Regions from separate parts of the Homo sapiens genome. Here regions 1 and 2 are each linked to region 3. The links are contacts of gene promoters, found by promoter capture Hi-C in human tissues and cell types (Jung and others, 2019). All regions are on one chromosome and are shown on one strand. The core of a region is centred on a gene start or on the middle of the fragment in contact, and the rest is flanking DNA. Distances in the headings are between cores, read along the strand shown.

Region 1 (4,033 bases), core at 33-2,532, 330 kb before region 3:
TTTTGCTCACCAATGTTGTCCTGAGTGGCCATCACAATGTCTGCTGCATATTTGTTGTGCTAATAAATACTTTTTCAATTAGTGTTAAATGTTATGGACTGTAGCAGGACAAGCCGCATACAAAACCCCTCAGACATGGAGATAGTGAAGGGAATGGCTTTAATCAGCTGGAAGCATCAGCAGACTAGCCTCTTAAAATCCAAGCTTGTCGGGTGCACAATTTCTGTGCCTTTTAAGGGCTCACAACACTAAGGGTTTCACATGAAAGGGTCGTAATTGATTGAGCAAGCCAGGGGGTACGTGACAGGGGCTGCATGCACCGGTGGTCAGAGTGAAACAGGACAGACCGGGAAGTTTCACAATGTCTTTCCATACAACGTCTGGAATCTATAGATAACATCAGTTGCTAGGTCAGGGGTCAAATTTTAACAGACTTAGGTCAGGCAGGCCCAGGCCTGGTTTCAGGTCTGGTTCCTTTGTTTTGGGTCTGTTCGTAGGCACCAGGCTACCTGCCTTTAGTTTTGCTTCTCTTTCTTTTTCTGAGTGTAGAACAATATAAAACAATATGAGAGGGTCTGTCTCTCTTCTCTCAGACCACTTAAAAATAATCTAATAAAGGGACATGGAAGAATCTGGAAGCCATCAGTCGCAGCAAACAGGAACAGAAAACCAAGCACTGCATGTTCTCACTCATAAGTGGGAGTTGAACAATGAGAACACATGGACACAGGGAGGGGAACATCACACACTGGGGCCTGTGGGGGGTGGAGTGGGGGGCTAGGGGAGGGATAGTATTAGGAGAAATACCGAATGTAGATGATGGGTTGATGGGTGCAGCAAACCACCATGGCACATGTATACCTGTGTAACAAACCTGCACATTCTGCACATGTATCCCAGAACTTAACATAAAAAAAACAAAACAGAACAAAACAAAATGGAACCAAAAAGATATAAGCTTTGAAATCTGTATTAGGAATGGGACATAAAGTGAGTCTTCAGTCTTTTAACCTGGTGTCATATAAATTATTCTAGAGGTACAACCAATCAGGTGAGGTTTGAGGGATTTGTACTTGAAAAATCATAGGAGATACCTCTCTTGTGGAATTTAGTGTGAAGATTAAATGAATTAGTAAATTAAGTATAATGATAAGTATTTAAGTTTAATAAGTAAATGAATTACTAAATATAGTACATATGAAATATATAAAATAGTACCTGGGCCCATAGTAAAAATTAAATATATTATTGTTCTCATTATTGTTTTTAAAATCCGAAGAAAATTTAATTGCCTATTTTGGTGCCTAGAGTCTCATGTAATGGGGCTGGGGGATGGGGTAGGAAGACATTAAGACTTTTAAATAAACCATAAGAAAAGCCACCTCAAAGCCTAAATAGCTCAGGGCTAGGAGTCAGTCTTGTCTGAAGCCCATCACCAATGACCTATCACAAAGGCCTTTAACCCATCTGAATCCTAGTCGCTTCAGGCTTGGCTTACCATTTTTGCTATGTGAGCTTCCTAAGTCACTTGTCTTTTCTGAGACTGACTTTCTTTGCTTAAAACAGCATTTGTTATTTTGTATCCTGCACAATTTTTGTCATTTCCTTGTGCCACTTATACCATTTAAAAATATTTTTTCTTTAATTGGCTCACTTTTTATTTAAATAAATCTATGTAAAAAGGAAACTTTACATATTGCCATAAATGGAAAATTAATAACATAGTAGTTCCCCAAAATAGGGTGACAATAAAGTTTATAATAATACTTAAAAACAATGTAATAAACTCTGTCTGGATATTATTGCCTGACAAAAGTTCTGAGGCTTAAAGTCTGTTATGTTTTTATGAAAATGGAGATGTGTTCTAAAGGTTTTATAGAAATATCAGCACCAAACTGAAATTTTCTCCTTACACAAAGTCCTGAAAGAGAATTGTAAATAAGATATCTCCTTTGTCACATAGTTCCTCATTGAATGTCATGTAAGGTCGCCACCTAAAGTCATCCCAAGATCATCTGCAAGACACACCTCACATTTGAATAACATGGATCTAAAAATTGGAGATCATGATAAAAATACACAGCCCTGTGGGGTTTTTGAGAATAAAATTAGATGTAGTATTTGAAACTGCTGGCCGGGCGCGGTGGCTCACGCCTGTAATCCCAGCACTTTGGGAGGCCGAGGCGGGCGGATCACGAGGTTAGGAGATCGAGACCATCCTGGCTAACACGGTGAAACCCCATCTCTACTAAAAATACAAAAAATGAGCAGGGCGCAGTGGCGTGTCCCTGTAGTCCCAGCTACTCCGGAGGCTGAGGCAGGAGAATGGTGTGAAACCGGGAGGCGGAGCTTACAGTGAGCCGAGATCGCGCCACTGCACTCCAGCCTCGGCGACAGAGCGAGGATTCGGTCTCAAAAAAAAAAAAAAAAAAAAAAAAACTGCTCTGTAAATTTTAAAAATCTATGTAGTCGTGCATATTTTAAAAATGAGATAGCATTTACGTGCTAATTTTGTTTTTTATGTTACAAGGGACAGAAACAAACTTGGAAAAGCTTAAGAGAGATAGGGTTTTTTTTTAATGGAACAGTAATTACATTTTAGCACTATTTGTTCTGATACCTCCCTCTTTATTGTGTGCGTGTGTTTGCAGTTCTATTGCTATCATATTCTCATCTTCAGTCTCCTTTAAGCAGCCAAGAGTTAAGTAGTAGTTTGATTAAGCATCACCTAATACGGAGTGCTCCTACCGGACAATTTTGGCTCAGTTCTTGCTCCCTGGGTTATTCCAACACAGTGAGGGTGACTGGGTTAATTTTCAGGCAAGTACATGGTTCTTTTCTTCAAAGGGGCATTAAAAAGCCGAGTTACTATAAGACATAGTGAGGTTTTGTGTCCTGCCCAGCACAGTAAGCCAAAGGGCTTTGGAAGTTAAAAGTACATATCCTTGTTATATAAACTGCTAGAAATCTGAATGCAAAATCGTGGTAGGAGGCCAAGCAGCAGTGGAAACACTGATGAAAACCAGCAAATGAGTTGCTGAGGATCTGCACTTATACCGTAAAGGTGGATGGTCAGCTGTTGTTACTTCCTCCAACCTTGCCCTCCCTCTGGGCAAGCCCATCTCCCACTCCCAATTCACACACAAATACACACAAACACACACACACACACACACACCTGTAGTATTGAAGAGACTACGTTTCTATTCCAAAGCAAACTCCAAAGTACTAGTCCCCAAAGATACATTTAAGTAGTTATTCAGTGGTTAATCTCCCCCTAAGATTTTCTTTAGTCTCTGACATAGACAGCTGAGATATCTAAAATAGGAGGTATCCTTGTCTGATCTCAGACAAGAGATAGGAGCTAAGGATCACATAAATGCTAAACGTCATACTCAGCCACATTTGTTCAAGATAGGGTGCACCCTGAGGACCTTTCCAGTAATACTTTTATTCTTAATGTACAGCAGGGCAGCTAGAAGTAAAGGGGAAAAAATTTCTTTGATGGAGAGAAATGTTAAGAAGTCTGAGAACAGGATAAAACAAAATATCTCTGGAGATGGGATAAATGAAGGGCACACAAAGCCTATAATTTTTAAAAAAAGAAAAAAAAGAAAGAAAGAAAAAGAAAAGACTGCTGTGACCTTCCAGAGACAAATGAGAAGTCAGGGAAGTAGAGTAAGATATCAACTCAGGTGAAATGAGTCTGCAAAAGAAAGGGCAAAAAAGCCTCCACCTCTATTCAGATTGTTTCACACAGAATCAGGTGAAAGGATTTCTTACAAGTGTGGTGCTCAAGTTTTAACGTGTACCGGAATCATCTGGAGGTCTTTTAAATACACAGATTGCAAGGTCCCTACACCGAGAGTTTCTGCTTCAGTTGGTCTTGGTTGGGGGGGGTGGGGGCAAAAAATGTGCATTTTTAACAAGTTCCCAGATGTTGCTGGCACTGCAAGTTCAAGGGCCACACTTTGAGAACCATATTGCAGGAAAAGACTAGCATGGGGAGCAGGATGATTTAATTATATGTATT
Region 2 (3,952 bases), core at 1,196-3,695, 420 kb before region 3:
TTTTATTAATTCCTGATTCTTTGTCTTTCTTGGGAAATATGATTAGACATACTTCTAAGCTTGCAAGCCCCATTTTAGAGCTCCTGGTAGATGCTATATAGTAAGTGTTTTTCTACTGAGGACATGAAGTCAGAAGCACATTGCTCACTGATGCACGGTTTTAAGGTGGCACGTGACTTCCAGTTCCTTCTCCATAGCAGACTCTGGGGCAGGGATGCAAATGAGCTGAATCTCTGAAGGGCCTTAAGTGGTTGCCATCTCCACCTTTCAATCTGGTCATTCCTGCAGTGGCTGAGGCATGTCCTAACCGTTACTCAAAGTCCCCTTTAGTCCATTAGCAAAACATGCTTAAGTCTGTCTCCAGTTTCTGGCAGAAATTGGTCAGATAGTTGGTTTCCATACCTGAGCACTGCTACTCCCAAAACATCAGTTAGGGGCCAGGATCAAGTACCCAAGCAGAGACAAAATACAGAATGGATCTAGTCTCCGTTTTCACCAGTAACTCTCTGGTCCCATGCAGACAGGACTCCTAATTCATGAGCAATTGGGAGTCTATTAAAGGTAACATTAAAATGGAAATTCCCAAGTAGTAATTTGGCAAGGACTTTTTTTCTTAGACTTCTTCAATTTAATGTCATAAAACATGTTTCCAATATCTTGCTTTTGTCTCAGTGCTGCTTGTGTTAGGTCCTCATTATCCCTTTTATATGAACGTTCAGTGTTTTGACATTCACAGTGAAAAAGCATGTTGACTCGTATTTAGGACAATTATTTTTATGTCAAGTACAGGTAGAGTCTCACCTTAGCTTTGAAATTATTCAGAATAGCAATCTCCTTAACAATCATTGTTCCTTTCCTGTATCGTCCTGATTTTAAAGAGACACAGTCCAAAGACGACTCCTCACTCACTGCTCTCTCAAACATTTAAAGAGCACACAGAAATTCTTATTAAAATCCTCTCTGCTCTACTTATTAAAATCTCTGCTTATTAAAATCCTCTGTGCTCTATGGAACAGAATATTGTAGGTCAATAAATCTAATGATTCTAACTTTCAATAAGAGGTGTTTTGGTTATGTTATCAGTTATTTATTGCTGCATAACAAATTTAAACCAACATACTGGCTTAAAATAATAAAGTGTACCCCCAAGCTCCCAATATACTCTTAATGTATTATCCCAAGAGAGACTTCTTTCTCATCCACATGTGTCTTTCCAGCATGGTATTTGTTTACACACCACTCTGGACCATCCCCTCCTCATAATGCATCCCCTTCCAGGTTATATTTCTCCCTCCATGTGCAACATCCTGGGATTTTTTTTTTTTTCATAGAGCCTGACTGCTTTCCTTCCATGATTCTTCATTTTGTATTTTTGTCTTTTTATCCTCAGAGAGCAGGAGAGATAGGAAAACTATAAATCCTGAATGTTAGTAATGTATATTCTCTTATATACTTATTATTTATAACACCTTCATTATTATTATTTTTCCTCCCTTTTGGGTAACAAACTGATTTGGAAAAGCAAGGCCGCATAGTGTATAAATGTAAGGAGCTTGGATTTGAATCCATGTCTGCCTGGTTCATGCTACTCCCCAAAGCAGCAGGACAGTGGTGCTGCCTAATTTCCATTTCAGTTATCTTTTCAAATATTTTATCTTTTCTATAAAATAGAATTGAAAAATGCAAAATAATATTCACAGATTTGTTCATAAAGAACTTTATGATATAGTCAAATGTGTGCACTTAATAATCATCTGCATTTTTGATTAATTGAAAAGGGGGAATCATTTTTCTTCAAAAATTTTTTTTAGTGATAAACAGTAATACAAACAGAGCAAGACACAGTTCCTGGCCTATCCAAGTTCAAAATCTCTAGGGGATTTTCACTCTGAGAACTGCACACACCATCCTTTGAAAAACACTGACGTTCCATTTTCTAACCCTAGCACCTAGCAACCAGACATGGTAAGGATTCAGCAAATGCTTTTTGAATGAAATAAATCTGTATTAGACTTTTTTCCAATACCATAATTTCAGTATTATGATTGCACATTTGTGACTGTTTTAATTTTTTAAAGACTAGCTTGAATTCATTATTGTGTCCAATTTCACTTCAAAACTCAGGGCTTTCCTTGTCCTTGATTTTGGTGTTGTAACAGTCACAAATAAATTTTTTGCTTTACTCACAGGCAACATGAGGAGAGGGAGAAAGATCTTCCTTTAAAATAAGTTGGAAGAGGAAGGCAAAAAGCTAAAGAAAGCATTAAGATTTATATGGCTGAGAAAGTGGAATTTAATGAATTAAGAACTAAAAAAGAAGAAAATGGGAGGGTCCAGCATAGGTAAAATCAGTTTAAGCAGAAAGAAAAGGAGTGATGCAGAAAATTCTGGGTCAAGAAGGTTCTTGGGCAGAACTCTCCCAGAAGTGTCGTTCCCTTAAAACAATTTGGTTATTTGAAAAATTAAATGGTAGTGGTAGGTGATTAGCCCAGGAATAAGGAATGAAAAAATGTGACAATATGTGGTATATCCATTGGATTGAGTGTCTAGCCCAAGGTTTGAATCGTGACACAATTCCCCCAGCAAGCCTGCCATCCTAGACTTGAACACTTCAAAGGGTGGAGAATCATGGAGGATGCGCATTATGTTGCCAGGTAACTTTGTCAATAAATTTATCCTTTTCCTGAGCTAATGTTTCTCTTCCCATAAATTTCCACTCTTGGAGTGATATGGAAAATTTTGGCTTCACTTATAATCATTTATCACCTCTTTGAAAACAACTCCTTTACTCATGAGTTGGTTACTGTTAATTTGTGGATTGTCTCTATTCAACTAATGAATATGCTGTTGTTGGGTGCTATAACAAGCTTAACCCCCCAAATTAAAATAATAATACACTAACAATGATGACATTTTTTGGAGGGTTTCTAAAAGCTTAAGTGGCATTGAAGGGTAGCAATAGTTTGTGGTAGAAGACAGCTTATGTTTCTCAAATCACTTTAGTAAAATAATTATGTCAGGCTGGGCACGGTGGCTCAGGCCCATAATCCCAGCATTTTGGGAGGCCGAGGCAGGTGGATCACTTGAGGTCAGGAGTTTGAGACTAGCCTAGCCAACATGGTGAAACCTTGTCTCTCCTAATAGTACAAAACACATTTAGACAGGCGTGGTGGCAGACACCTGTAATCTCAGCTATTTGGGAGGCAGAGACACAAGAATCGCTTGAACCTGGGAGGCAGAGGTTGCAGTGAGCCAAGATCATGCCACTGCACTCAAGCCTGGGCAACAAAGTGAAACTGTGTCCCAAGAAGAAAAAAAAAAGAAAATAATTATGTCATAATGCACAATCCTGTTTTCAAACATGTTAAAATGTAATAGATTTTCTCATTTCATATTTAATGTTTCTTTTTAGGATTAAAGTAATTTAAGGTATCCATTCAAGCCTCCTTAAGAACACTTTTCCAAAATTATACTACCACTGTTATTTTGAATTACCCCAGCAAGAAATGTGCTAGCAAGAAAAGCCAGCTTTGATGGATATTTCCAAGGACTTCTTTGCAGGAGTTTACCTAGTCATTTTATTTTGTTATCTGGAAGGAAATAACTGAATTTAGTTTTAATTTTTTTAATTGTGAAATATGTCACCTATGAGGAATAGTTTATTGTGATAGCATTTTGGTGGGTCAGCTTGACTAGGATGAATTACAATCCCTAGAATTACATTTCTAGTCGCTTTCCTGTTGGGGTGGGCTACAAGGGATCATCTCCCAGGAGAGTTGGAGGACTGAAGTGAGGCACTGACAGTTTGAGGCATAAACACCCCTACTGTCTATTAGTCAACCAAACACTAATCTAGGCTCTGCTGTGAAAGGACTCTGTAGATGTGATCATAGTCCTGAGTCATTTGGTTTTAAATTAATCAAAAAAGAGATTATCTTGGGTAGGCATAACT
Region 3 (3,893 bases), core at 901-3,400:
TGATAAGTTAATTTCTTCATAGTGACTTTTGAGTTCCCGCTGCAAGTTGATGACTTTTTTATGCCAGATGCCCAGGGCTCCAGGCAATCCTTATAGTTTTTCTAACTGACAAGGAATTCTCTATTATGAAATGGGGATGTGATTTACATATACCTGCAATCTTAAAGCACTCATAGAGGCCACTGGAAACTCAAATGGGTAATACAAATTGAATTAGCAGCTCTTGATTAAGAGAGCATTGATTTTATTAAAACTGGTAGAATATATGCCAGAAGTTAATTAATAGCTTGAAAATAATCAGACACTTCATAAAGCTGAACATCTGCCAAAAAGCGGGTATTCTGAGGTATGTTCAGGAAAGTTTCCAAGTGTATAATATTTGTTTCCATAGTTCCTTATGTTGTAATAACCAAAAAATAGGTAAATCAATTTTAAATAAAGCAATTTAACAAACTCATATTTCCTTTATATTTTGGAGGAACTCCAAACTTGCAAGAGTAGAACAATGTCCTTACTTACTCTCTTGGGATATCTAAAATATCTTCAGTCCTATAAGATTCTTTTTTAAAATGAGGAATGATTCTTGTTCTGCTTATTTTTACATAACACCTTTATCATCAAACAAACTTCAAGATGTGTCATCTTTAGTAGGAAAACATATTTCCACCTCATCCTCCTGTTAGACTTCAGTCTACTTAAGCCTATTCTCAGTTTAATGGGATTAACAGAAGCAAATCACAATTTAAGACTATAGTTTACCAACCTTCCTTTCTCTTGTTCAGTGAAATTCCCCTGATAATCCATCAGTCAACCCCTGCTGGCCTTGAGAGGCGCTCTAGAAGGCAGGAGAAGGGCACACAGGCTCGCTTTTTGAACTGAAGAAGGGTTTCATTTGGTTTAGAATTGTCAAACTTCAAAAAATAAATAAATAACTTAAAGTGTTTTTCAAATCAGCCATAAGGCTACAAACCAGAAAGAAAAGTGTGAGGCAGGTGTTTGGGGCAGCTACCCAAGTTGCCTACATGGTTTCCAAGGTCCTTTCAACTCTAAGGTTTGTGTATCAGGCTGTCTACAGATCATACTGTCTCCATAAGATTGTCTAGTTCATTTTATGGCTAGTTTGAACAATCTGATTTTCTTTTTTACAATGGCAGGGGCTCAATCCATGTTAGGCTTCAATGTTGAGTCACCCAAGTTCTCCACAGAGAATAACCAACCAGCCGTAAGGAAGCTTCTTTTAGCAATGCCAGGATTCTGCAAAGTCCCTCCCAGCTTAACTTTTCTGACCTTGCGGCAGCAGAACAACAAAAAGAACAGCCCCTGGCACCCTCAGAAGAGCACAAAGCCCTCTGACAACCTGAGATGGCGCCCAGGTAGACTTCCCTCAAAAAAAAAAAAAATGGCAAGGCTGCTTCAGCAGGTCTTTCAGCCCCAACCACTCCACTCTCCGTCTCCTTTTCTTCACTGCTTTCCCCACCTCTCTTCCCCCCTTCCACTTTGACCCACCCCAATTTTCGTCCACTTCTCCCTCACCCCTTCCTTGTAATCTCTCTCCTTGAGGCATCCTGTGGATGTTGACTGTAATCTCCCCTGGAGGAGGGCTAAGAAATGCACCTCCAGAGGGTCTGTTTGCCATTGGAACCGCGTAGAGAAAGCGTGCAAACCCGTCAACTGCTCCCGCCGTTCCTCTCCCTCCTCAACCCAGGCTCGCTACAGAAGAAGGGAGTAGGGTCTGCCCCCTTGTTGTATCTATTTTCCCCTTCTCCGCCAGGGCTGTGGCCGGCAAGGGGCTCAGGAGGTGAGTCCCTTGCCCACACCTCCAACCCCGCTGGCCCGGTTTATAACATGGACAGCCCTGCCCTCTAGTGTCTGCAACCGGGAGCCCTAAGGCGCCATCAGCTCCAGAATTTCTCTTTTATAACCTAAGCAAGACCTGGAGTACCTCGGAGCTGCGACCTCCAGTTCACAATACCACCTGCCTCACACCCGGGCTCATCTTTTCATCCCACACCCACCACCCCCCTCTCCGTTCACGGTGTCCCGGGAGGCTGCGACCTGCGTAGATGATTTAGCAGACTGCCCCTGCCCATGCTCCTGCTCCTGCTCCTCCTCCTCCTCTTCCCCGCTCTCTCCCTCTCGCCTCCTCTTCCAGTCCAGGCGCCCAGACTCGGCGAAGCGCAGCGCCTGCCACCAGCGGTGCCTCGGGCTGCCCGGCGCGCCGCGCTCCCAGGTTCTGTCTCGCCGCACCCCGGCGGGCACTGGCGCGGGCAAGGACGCTGGCGGGGAGAACGCCCTGGGCTCAACGTACTCCAGAATCGAATGTTGAGAGAAGCAGTGCTCTGATCCAGCTCAGGAGAAAAAGGAGCGGGTTCCGAGTGAGACTTCTGGAGCCAGCTGGACGTGCCGGTTTGCCCAGTGCGGCGCGGCTGCACGCACCGTCCACAAGGTGAGGGGCGCACACCTTCCGGGACGACCTTGGCTTCCCTTCTTACCCCCACCCACTCCAGGTACTCCAGCTCTGGCTTGGGGATGTTTGCCAGCTTTGAGGCGCAAAGGCGGCGGGAGTTGGGATGCGGGGTGTCGGAGGGAGACTGAGGGTCGCCCGGGCACCGTGCCTGCACCCTGGATTATAGTACAGAGAGCATTTCTTGTTCAAACAATTCCTCAAATGTGTGAACCTGAGAATCAACATTGTGTATAACTGTGGTTTGAGCATTTCATCCTGCTTCCTTGCAAAAGGATTAGAGGCAGCTTAAAGATTAAATAGGTATGGAACGGGTGCTGGGGGGGGCCAGGGAAAACTTGAGTAGAAATCACAGGGAGGTGGTGTGCTCCAGGGACCCCGGAAGAACTGTGTGATTTCAAAGCCAGCTGATTAAAAAACCTTTGATTAGAAAGGACTGCACTGTTGCTCCAGCCCTCAGAAAATAATACTGTGCTCAGTCCTGATAAACAAAATGCCCAGGTGTGGAGGTAATGAGGCAGGCTCATTTTTTTTAAAATACAAAATAAATCTTGGAAGTAAGAGTTAAGATGAGAAGTTTGGTCTTAAGCCATCTCCACCCAATACTGCAAGGTGAGAGGCTGACCCCCTACCTAACGAAAAGGAAAGGAAATTGAGTCTAAAGGGAAGTGATTCCAGCTCCTATCACAGGATCATAGTGGTTTTGCATCTATATGTATATTTCTGCCTGTGCCCAGTTTTGGAAGAAAGGACCTTGTATTCAACCCAACGCTGCTTGTCCTTGAGTTAGAAGGATAAGGCAGATGGTGTCAGCATCCCAAGGTGTTTCTTCCTAACCTTTCTTATTGTCCTTCCTTGCCTCCTGCACCAAATCTCTTGGGGAGGGAGCAGCCCAGGAGGAAATAATAGATCGTCAAATGGGTTGGGGGAGCAGTGTTTTTTCCAAAATAATTTAGGCTCATTTTATCATTCTTATGTTTTCCCTCAAAGCTCTAAGCAGTACATCGTCCTAAGCTGAATTTAACATTGCTCCAGAATATATATTTATCATAGTTGTACATTCAGACACAATATGCATAACCTTAAACAGCCAGGATGCACTTGTGAATCAGGGGCTTCCCTTACTTAATCCTGCGCAAGAGAGGCAAAGCAGGCACGTGGGTCTGATTCCCTGTGCGGTCTCCTTCATGAGGAGCATATGTGAAATACCTTTGAAATACAGAGAAGATTGAGACAGCTTTTCTCTTTCTGGTACAGTTGCTTTCCTGCTGAATTAAATGAGATGACCCTGTCTTCAACAAATAAATGAATGGAGGCATTTGAGGCCCATTTAACAAATGCACAAAATATGCCTGCCTCTGTTTTTCCTCCCTTCAGAGCTTTAGCCTCCAGCCCACGGAGTTGTGATGATGAAGCCCACCTCCTAAGT

What was found. The method cuts DNA at HindIII sites, captures the fragments that hold promoters and counts their contacts. A contact is called where the count stands out against the background at its distance.
Region 1: a contact is called between a fragment that was not itself captured here and the fragment with the promoter of HTR1E in region 3, in 4 of the 25 tissues and cell types used here (adrenal gland, bladder, dorsolateral prefrontal cortex and 1 more).
Region 2: a fragment that was not itself captured here is called in contact with the fragment with the promoter of HTR1E in region 3 in 4 of the 25 tissues and cell types used here (adrenal gland, bladder, ovary and 1 more).

What each region holds. Positions count from the first base shown.
Region 1 is chr6:86,609,619-86,613,651 of GRCh38, forward strand. No RefSeq gene overlaps it. Among named protein-coding and RNA genes, the nearest start is that of HTR1E, 330 kb to the right of the region's middle. The HindIII fragment of the contact is 4,331 bases long and covers 1-3,448 here.
Region 2 is chr6:86,516,105-86,520,056 of GRCh38, forward strand. No RefSeq gene overlaps it. Among named protein-coding and RNA genes, the nearest start is that of HTR1E, 420 kb to the right of the region's middle. The HindIII fragment of the contact is 5,056 bases long and covers 1-3,952 here.
Region 3 is chr6:86,935,378-86,939,270 of GRCh38, forward strand. HTR1E (5-hydroxytryptamine receptor 1E) reads left to right here and starts at 2,151. Exons shown (of 2, transcript NM_000865.3): 1 at 2,151-2,446. RefSeq lists enhancers at 1,935-2,490, 2,491-3,045. The HindIII fragment of the contact is 9,684 bases long and covers 116-3,893 here.